2 separate regions of the Homo sapiens genome follow, and region 1 is linked to region 2. Evidence: promoter capture Hi-C in 16 types of primary human blood cells and fetal thymus (Javierre and others, 2016). All regions are on one chromosome and are shown on one strand. Each heading gives the region's core, a stretch centred on a gene start or on the middle of the fragment in contact. The rest is flanking DNA. Distances are from core to core; before and after follow the strand shown. Region 1 overlaps DCTD (dCMP deaminase). Region 2 holds the start of WWC2-AS2 (WWC2 antisense RNA 2).

Region 1 (4,752 bases), core at 1,276-3,775, 190 kb after region 2:
TAGTGAGCCAAGACTGCGCCACTGCACTCCAGCCTGGGTGACAGAGCAAGACTCTGTCTCAAAAAACAAAACAAAAACAAACAAACAAAAAACAAAACAAAAACAAAGAAAAGAAAAAGCTAGAAGTGTAGAACTGTAAACCTTTGGCTTGACTGTCTCTGGATTTTCCCCTTGAAATTAGGGAAGGCTGCTTCTTAGAGTTTGTTGCCTGTCTAAGCCCCAGGGAAAATTCCTTCAGAGATTGCCTGGGAGGGTCCAGCCATAGCTTTACTTTTCCTTGCATTCCTTGGAGAATATGCAAGCAATGCTGGAAAAGAGGCAAATCATGCTGGGTATGCAGGTTGCTGATTTTTGTAAGGTTAGGCCCTGTATTTTATGTCTGAGAATGAACAGACTGGCGCTGTTGGAAGTGAAGGGAGAGTAAGGCCATCCAAATGGGAAAGATTGTGTCTTCAGGCCAAGGCGTGATGTACGACCTTTCTTCTTTGTTGACTCTCCTGGTAGGTTTTCTTCTGGGTTTTTCTCATGAAGAATCCAAGTCAACATTTAGTCTAATTTATATATTTTTACTAATGTTCCTGGACCTCAATCATGTTAAATAAGCCCCATAAATTTCTTTCTAAATTGCCTAGGGGCAACTTCTCCATGTTTGAAAGAAAAAGTTAAGAGGTACCTGGAGAGAGAGGAGGAACTGAGGACTGCAAAGCAGTCTGGGTTTCCAGGATGTGAAAAGTAGTTTAGGGATGAAGGGGACCGAATCCTCAGATCCTTGATTTAACCTCACCCTCCCTCGTCGGAGTGGGAAGAGAGGATGGAGTTGGGGGAGGGTAAGACTGTCTTCTCAGCACAGCTTCAGAGCCGGTGGTAGTGGATGACTAATTAGAAAAATGCGCGGACTCAGAAACTGTCACCCTGATTTTGATTCTATAAGCTTTTGATGGTAAGAAAGAAGGGAAGTGATTAGTTGTTTTTAAGTCCATGCAAAGATAATTTTTCACAGTGCGGTTCAAAGTCCCCTATAAAAATGGTGAAAGTGGAGGGTCGATATGTTAAAGGTCTGCATTGAACTGTGTGACGGCCACAGTCAGTATGTCACCGAGTCTGGGCAGTGAAATATTGGCCCTGGGGCTGGACTTTGATATGGAGGAATTCTGGGGGGATGGCGGTCCGTCATACTCAAGCTGGTGCAAAAGATACCCGTGGTTGGACAGTGCGGAGGGGTCCTGGGTGAGCACTGAGTGGGCCTCCCAATGGGGCCTGTGCCTTCTTCAGTCACCCAGAGCCCCCAGCAGATCTTTAAGCAGTGACCTGGAAGCCAAGGGCCATGCAGTACATTTGCAGCACCTGCCCCACACCCCAGACTTCCCAGCTCTCCTGACTTCCCGTGTAGCTGATTTTGTTGGTTATGAGACACTGCCTTTTGTCCAAATTGAGGAGAGTACCTTTCAGAGCCCCTTTCTAGAAGGAATTTTTTTAAAAACCTGCATAGGTATTTGTCCAACTTCACCGATTGTTTTTTATTGAATAGCTCCTGAGCTCCTGGGCACTGGTTGTCTGTCTGCATTATTTTTTATTATCCATATGATACCTCTAGGTTTTCAAAGCTCTTTGCTCTTACTTATCAATTATTCATTTATATGTAGCTGTGTTAGAATGTCGACAGTTTTCTTTCACGAGAGTAAGCTTGTAATTTGATGTACCATAAAAGTTGTAGAAGGTATTAAATGGTTTCTAAAAGGCATTTAGTATTACTGCCGCCATAATACAGTAAAGATGGGCTTAAAGTCTAAATGACGATGACTGTGTATAAACTGTACACTTGTTGTCTTCTCAAGGTTTTTCAGGCCACAGAGAAGTAAATGTTTGGATTGCCTGGGATGTCACAGAAATGTTTGCTGATAATTGACTCAAATGCAAAGTCTTTTTTTTTTTTTTTGCTTTCGTTTTAAGATTTTCAAAATTAATTTAAAAAATAAGGGGATACTGCCTGGAGTTGGATAGCTCAACCCATTCTTTCCTCATCTACATTAATGGTGACTGAGCTGCTGTAGCAGGAAGGGTAAATTCATAGGTTAATCCCTGTAAAGGAGCTTTAGAGATTATCTCGAGTTCTGGACAATGATTTTTAACTCTTTTGAATGTACAGGACCCTCTTTTAAATGCTGAAAAACTTCCAGGACCCCTGCATAATGCTAAATTCTTAGTATCTTTTGAGTAAGAAACTCCACAATGACAAAAACTACTTCGTATCAGTAACATTTTTTGTTAATCTGAACTTTATTAATTGGATAGCATTTATGTATGTTTGGGAAAAGTTTATGTATGTCCTGGACATGGGATTTATCCAGTTGTGGATATGCTTGGACCCCTTGCAATACCTTAGTAGTGTCTCAGGGTTCTATGCCCACAGGATCTAAGCCTCCTCCTTTCTTGTAAGTAACTTCTATAATGTCACACATGCAGGGTGACATCTCCTAATTCCAAGGTCAGTGCTCTTCCTGCTACCTCCCTGTGTCTCTCCTGTGGGGCACATGAATTCAGCTGTACTGAAATGCCAATCATTGTCTCATTTTTTTTTGCAGTTGATCAGACTGAGGCTCCGATAAAATAATTACTCCTCAGAGATCAGGAGCTCGGGGAGGGGTGGCCTGTGTCCGGCATCATGCAGAAAGCCACATGCGTGGCTCACTGTAACATTTCTTCAAAGGGGAGTGCAGTGGACTGAATGTGTCTCCCCCCAAATTCACATGTTGAAACCCTAATTCCAATGTGCTGATATTTGGAGGTGGGGCCTGGGGGGACGTAATTAGGCCATGAGGGTGGAGCTCTCCTGAATGGGATTAGTGCCCTTCTAAAAGGGACCCCAGGGAGCTCAGTTACTCTTTTTCCATGTGCAAGGATAGGCGGAGAAGATGGCTATCTGCAACCCTGAAAGGAGACCTTGCCAGAATCTAACCATGCTGGTGTCCTGACTTCCAGCCTCCAGAACCATGAGAAATAAATGTCCATTGTTTCTCAGCCACCCAGTCTATGGGACTTTGTTATAGCAGCCCCAAGGGACTGTGACAGGGAGCTTGAGAACTGTGTAAATTTGAGTTTACCAAATAACATACAGCTTAATACTGCTTTATTAATTCCGTAAGTCGGAAGTCATTAGTCCTGATTGATGCCTTGTGGGGAGGAGGGAAACACACACTACTTGTAACATAATAGGAAGATGGAGCTTTTCCTGGGCTGTGTCTCTAGAGAGTTATTTTTAAAGGGTGTTTTTGTTCTTCCAGTCTTGGGATCAAAACTTCATAAAACTATTTTATTATAATGTAGTATTAATGTGGAAAATGAAAATTCCCTCTGCTAAAGAAGCTTTTTATTCCATCCTTTTCCTGAAAAATCCAAAAGATAATATGATGTCAGTAACATTAAGTGGCAGGAAGAAGGCAATGTTATTATACTAAGAATCTTTTCAGATGAATGACAATTAAAAAAGAGGAAGCAGCAGATTTATCTAATTTACAAGATTAAAAAACTTGGGAAGATTTTTATTTTCATGAGGGGGTGGGTTGCTAAACCTGTGATGAAGTATTCAGTTGACATTTTTCATTCCTTTTTCTTTGTGGAATTCATTATAGTGAAGCACATTTAATCAAAATACCAATGTTATCAAATGAGGTAAAATACTCTTGGTGATTCAGATATCACTCTTTCCTTGGGTTTTCGTAACCGATTTTGATGATATAGTTTACAAATTAGAGAGTTGGAGAATTAACTTGTTCCCGTTGTTAAACTTAAGGGAATTTTTAGTAATGCTTGCCACATGTATCCAGCTGCCCAGCACTTGTGGCCTTGCTGATTTCTGCTGGCAAAGGGCTCTGGGTTTTGGTGAGTGCCTCTGTGCTTGGCCTCCTATCCCACCCAATGGACCAGGGAGCCAGGGTTGCTTGGCCTGCTGCATCTCACTGCACCAGGGAGGGAACCGTAGCATCTCAGTGTCCCCAAGAGTCGGGGGAGGCCTCACTCTGAGTGCGTTGGGTAGAAGTGGGGCTCTTACCCGAGTCAGTTCCTATGTCTACAGGGATACTCTAAAAAGGATGTAATGCTGGGAAGGAAAATGCTGAAAAACCTGGAATTAATTAAGGCGAAAGAGTTCAGCAGAGCATCTTAAACACCTTTGCCAGTGTGGGGCAGTGCCTCTTTAAATTCTCTATTTAAATTTCATCTTTATTTTTCAGACTTAGCATATTGTTAAGCATGCATAGATGTCACTTTTGTGATTACTTAGCCATTTACTTTACCCCCTTGAACACTGACATTTTCCTGACTGCCATGCACGTGATATATTTCTTTGGCATCTGAAAGGTTAGTGTTGAGAAACTAATTTATCAAGAAGTTAGGAGGCTGATCCTTCTTAAGATATGACTTCCTCACAACTTGTAAGAGCTTCTTAGTAATTAAGATCAAATTTGTTCTTTCCGTCCTGAAATTGAATGTCCTCTGGTTTCGTTAGTCAGTCCATGAATTTGATAACTTGCTGTTTCTTTTCCTGCAGAATTTAATTTCACTTAAAGCTTCCTGCCGCTCCTCCCCTGCCTGGCCTTCTACTAGTTGTGGCCCGACAGCAGGTCTAATTAGGGACTTTTGTACAAAACTACTGTTATAATCAATGGAAAACCTTTGAACAACTGCATAGAAAAGAAATTAAGTAGATTATTTTTACGAATCAAGGGGCAAACTCAGCTGTGATCGTGTGGGGTT
Region 2 (4,906 bases), core at 289-2,788:
TAGCTTTCAAAAACAACATTTTTAGGGCAAAAGTAACTGAGATTATAAAGTAGTTAGGTATTTCAGCTTCAAATTGAGAAAAGGGAAAATGTTAAATAGGAGAAGCACCTAAAAAGTATATAAAGCCCAAAGGGCCACATTCAATAAAGTTATAATTTTCAGAAATGACAAAAGTCCAAATGTCGAAGTTATCCCTGGTGGCACGTTATTTAAATTTACAATTAGGAATATCTCCTTAATGGATAATTTACAAATTTATAATTAGGAATACCTCCTATTATTCTTACAATAATTCTAAGAAATTTTAAGGGTAAAAAAAATATGGGACACAGAAACATTTGTGAACCTTCAGTTCCTGAACCAATTTAAAAAACAAAAAACAAAGAAACCAGGCTAAGCTCAAATCAGAGTGCCTCAATACCCAACGTTAATTTCACTACATCTCCCTTCCAAACACAATATGCCTGTTCCCGATCTGGGAGTCGGTTCAAGTTTTCAGGTGAAGACTAACGACAGACAGCGAAACCCCCAAACGCGCGTTTTTAAACTCTGAGGGGCAAAGTCAGTCACACCCACTAGCAGGGCCCGGCGGGGGGCGGGAGCCCCTTCCCAGCTCGGGACCTCCGGCCAGTCTGGGCGCCCCCGCCAAGAGCTCGCAGCCCAGGCTCCCGCGCCAAGGACGGCCTGAGGGATGCCACAGGTGGCCCGGAGGGCTCGTTCCCCAACTGGCAGTGAGGCCCTAGCCCACCCCCGCCGCCCAGAGGCCGAAGGTGTCCTGCAGCCTCCACGTGGGCACCTCGAAGCCTAGGGAAGTTCCTAACAGGGCTCAGGTGGCCCCTCGGGTCCGTTAGCCTGGCGCGCGGCGTCGGCCCGGGGCAGCGACTCCAGCCTTGCCTCGGGGCCGGGTCCCCGGAGGGGCGTCGGGAAGCCGGTGGGCGGAGGAGCCCGGGTACGGGCGGCTCCTCGGCCCCGCCGGAGCAGCCAGCCCCACATCCCTCCCGGGACCCCTCGGGGCACCGCGGGCCGGCGCCGCCCCAGCCCCCCGCGCGGCCGGGTCTCCGGGACAACAGCCGCCGTGTCCGAACGGGCCCGCGCCCCCGCGGCCGGCGCCCACCTGTCCCGGGGGTCGATCCAGCTGGTCCTCCTGGTGTTGTGGTCAATGTAGAAGACCTTGCCGTCGTAGTCCCTGGCCTCCTCCCAGCCCCGGGGCAGCGGCAGCTGACCGCTCCCGGCCCTCCTAGGCATGGTCGGCGGCCTCGCCGGCGAGCGGCGCCTCCATAGGTACCGGGCGCGGGACGCGGCGGGAACGCGGCTGCCGGGCTAGGCTGCCAACCCGCGACGCGGGCGCCGGCGAGGGGCTGAGGGGCGCAGGGCGCGGGGCGCGGCGGAACCACGCGCGGGAGGTGCCTCAGGAAACGCTGTTCGCGGCCCCGCTGCGGATCAGTCCACCATGTCTGCGTCGGAGCCGGCGAGCGAACCCTCCTCCCCCTCGCCGCCGCTGCCTCCGCCTCTTCCTCCTCCTCCGCCCCGTCCCCCTCTGGCCGCCGAGGGTCGCGGCGCCCAGGCTGCCGGAGCCGCCGCCGTCTGGGCTCGGATCCGGGAAGCTGCGGCGCTGCCGCGGCAGCGGCGGGCCCCTCATTTGCATGCGATTAGCATGCGCCCGCCCGCCTCATCTGCATGCGCATTCCTCGCGCCGCATTCCTGAGCTTAACCCCGCCGCTGCCGGCGTCGCCGCACCAGCTCGGACGCACTGCCCCGCGGGGCCGCGGCTCCAGGTGGGAGGAAGGCGGGCGAAGGAATGTGCGGCCAGCTCCCTCCCCTTGACCCCAGATAGCTCCCCTGGGCCAAACGCCGAGAGGTTTTAGAGTTTCTGGACGGGGAAGATTGCAAAAGTCTCCGCAACCTTCTCAACCTCTTTCGTCTTCTAGGGAAACCACAAAACTTTCGAGAGGAAAGGGGTGGCGGGCGGGGAGCTCTCCTCCGGAGAAAAAACCTCAACAAGCGGAGAGGGCACAAAGGCTCCCCACGCCGCGCCCCGAGCCCCTCCGGCACCCCAAGGGCGGTCCGGGGTGGTGGGAAAGCGCCAAGCCCTGGGAGTGCGTCGGTGGGTCCGGGACGGCGGGGCCTCCGCCAGGGCTCCTGGCCCTCGATGACCTCGGCTGAGACCGCGAGCCGCGCGGCGGAAAGCGGAGGAACTCCCGTCCGGCCCTGTAGCCGCCCGCACCGCGCCCCGTCACCCGCCGCCCCTTCGCGTCCGGGCGCTCCAGCCGCGGGGCCCCGGAAGCTCCTGGTCCCTGGCCTCCCCTGCTTGGTTCGGGGCGGTTGGCCGTGGACGCGCCCCGACTCTAGTCCCTTCCGTCCAGCCGCCCGCCCCAGGATGTCCCCCCACCGCAGCCCCGCCGTGGCCAGGAGGTGTGGGCGGCCACGCCGGAGGGACCCACGGCGGCGCCGGACGCCCGCCCTTCCTAGGCCCTGGCCCGGCCGGGGTGGGCCGGGACGTTCCCTGTTGCATAGGCATTTATTTATTCAGCAGCTACTACGTACGTGCTGGCCCGCACTGCCGAGGGACCGGACGCCTGCCCCAGGCGGGACAATGCCGGGTGCAGCGCTGGCGGGGCCTGGACGCCAAGCTTCAGGGTCCCCAGCCCCTCAGTCAGAGGGGGCGCCTCCCAGGCCCTGGACTCCTCTCCAGCCGGGTCTACACCACCGTCCCCCGTCATCTTCTTCTGGGTTACTGAGCAGCTTCTTTTAAAATAGCAACACCGAGGAAGGCCCCGAAGCCCAGTCTTGCACCTCGTGGTGTGAAGTCGTTTAATCCTGCCCGCTAATGCGTAAGGACTTTCCACCGTGTGCAGGACTCCGCGCTGGGCAGGGGCTCTCGCAGGGTTTGAACCGACCTCCGCCTCCCCTGCGGGTTCACAGGCCTGCGAGGAAGTCGCGTGAAGGAGATTCGCTACTGTGTGAGGCTGGCCTGCGCGGCGTGGGCAGTAGCTGTCCGGGGCTGGGGACAGCTTTCGGCTCCCCAGGCCATCCCGTCGGGGCATCTGCGGCCAATCTCGAAGGTGGAGAGGCTCAGGGTTGGAACAGACTTCACGGAAGGGGTCCTAGAAGAGGAAAGGGGTCGTGTTTGCCCTTAGAGCAGTCTGGGCGTGAAGCGGAAACTTTAAACCACCAGAAACTCTGGAGAGCTTGGAGCACCTGGGAAGGAGCAACCAGAGTGGGCCGGAGGTAGGGAAGGAAGGCACCCACGGCGAATTTGCCCGCTTTGACCGCATTTAGGGCGGCCGCTTGTGCAGCCAGCCTTCTGGAAGGTAGGCTTTGCGCTTGGTGAAGAGAAGCCCCCACCTCCGGATCTGTGTTCCGCCCCAGTCCATTCATCAGGAGGTGATCACACAAGTCAAGCTTCTCTAGTTCCCGGTGGAATGAGACGCCCTGGTGGGGTCTTAAGGTTGAACGTTTGAATACTGTAAAAAAGATGGGACCTGCCTACAATTAATCTCTCACACTACTGAGCGAATGTGCGTTGTTTTGGACTTCCCTAAATTGGCCCAAATGCATAGCCAACACTTGAATTGCGGTGTACTAACAACATCATTCAGCACCAAACCAAACCATTCTTATTTAAACCTTGCTTCCTAGCTTATTTATTTCCCAAACAACTTGAAAACATTTGTTATACTAAAATGTCTACATCTTACTATTAAAAAAAAAAAACCAAAGTAACACACTTTGCTGCTGCCGTAATTTTATGTCACTGAGATGAACTATTCTACAATACTTGTAATTTCAAATTTGTTAAACTTTCAGCTAAGTAGTTTTACCCAAATTCTAAAACCAGTGAGGAATCCAAAATAGCACGCAGCATTAAATGACGTTTATTGTTCCATAAATCTTCAGACTTCAAAAAGAAACGCTAAATAGACAAACAGAACTCTAAAGCAATTAAGAGACAAGCTCGCTGCTTCTTCCCCACTGACTGGCAAGGAAACATTTGGTCATACAAAAGCCATTAAAATGACGGAAAGGAGAGTTGCCACTCTCTAGCCTTTTTTGTTCTGATCAAGTTTGAACTCTGCTGTTCGGAGTTCACACAATTTACGTAGTAACAGACCTTCAGAGAATTCCTAACGGTCAAGACAATGAAATTGCATTTATATCTGTAAAAGGAAAAGAAACATGAAGATTATCCCCATTTTAGAGGTGGACACATTTAGATTTGATTTGAGCTCCAGATGATCCTTGGCAAAGAAAGATGATGCAATCCGGTGTACAGGACGCCATATTGCCCTAGCCTGGAACCGTGTTCTAGCCGCTGAAGAGCCTATTCTGTGGCTTTCAAAATGTTCTTTTCTCCTAGCTTTACGTTTTCTCTCCAGCGCTAAATCCGTGGGGATAAGCCACCATAAACAAAGCTCCCACTGTCAATGTCCTAATCTTGAGTGGCAGGAAAATTGGTAATATCAAAAATGGGAGTAGACAGTGAAAATTATTTTAAAAGATAATTCTATTATGTACAAATTTAAAAGATATCAGGTGGGCCGGGCGTGGTGGTTCACGCCTGTAATCTCAGCACTTTGGGAGGCTGAGGTGGGCGGATCACCTGAGGTCAGGGGTTCGAGACCAGCCCGGCCAACATGGCAAAACCCCGTCTGTGCTAAAAAATACAAAAATTAGTCAGGTGTGGTGGCAGGCAGCTGTAATCCCAGCTACTCGGGAGGCTGAGGCAGGAGAATCGCTTGAACCTGGGAGGCGGAGGTTGCAGTGGGCCGAGATCCTGCCACTGCACTCCAGCCTGGGCAACAGAGCAATACTCCATCTAAAAAAAATAAAATAAAAATAAAATATATCAAGCACACCTATAGTCCCAGCTGCTCAGGAGGCTGAGGCAAGAAGATCACTTGAGGCT

The links. The method cuts DNA at HindIII sites, captures the fragments that hold promoters and counts their contacts. A CHiCAGO score of 5 or more calls a contact.
Region 1: a fragment that was not itself captured here is called in contact with the fragment with the promoter of WWC2-AS2 in region 2 in 1 of 17 cell types (megakaryocytes); the score reaches 5.2 in megakaryocytes.

What each region holds. Positions count from the first base shown.
Region 1 is chr4:182,909,334-182,914,085 of GRCh38, reverse strand. All of the region lies in intron 3 of DCTD (dCMP deaminase), which reads left to right. Among named protein-coding and RNA genes, the nearest start is that of DCTD, 5.7 kb to the left of the region's middle. The HindIII fragment of the contact is 1,680 bases long and covers 1,686-3,365 here.
Region 2 is chr4:183,095,831-183,100,736 of GRCh38, reverse strand. WWC2-AS2 (WWC2 antisense RNA 2) reads left to right here and starts at 1,538. Exons shown (of 1, transcript NR_024008.1): 1 at 1,538-3,716. WWC2 (WW and C2 domain containing 2) reads right to left here and starts at 1,480. Exons shown (of 23, transcript NM_024949.6): 1 at 1,115-1,480. The coding sequence starts at 1,245. RefSeq lists a silencer at 2,427-2,721 and enhancers at 2,427-2,721, 4,067-4,361. The HindIII fragment of the contact is 3,980 bases long and covers 1-2,632 here.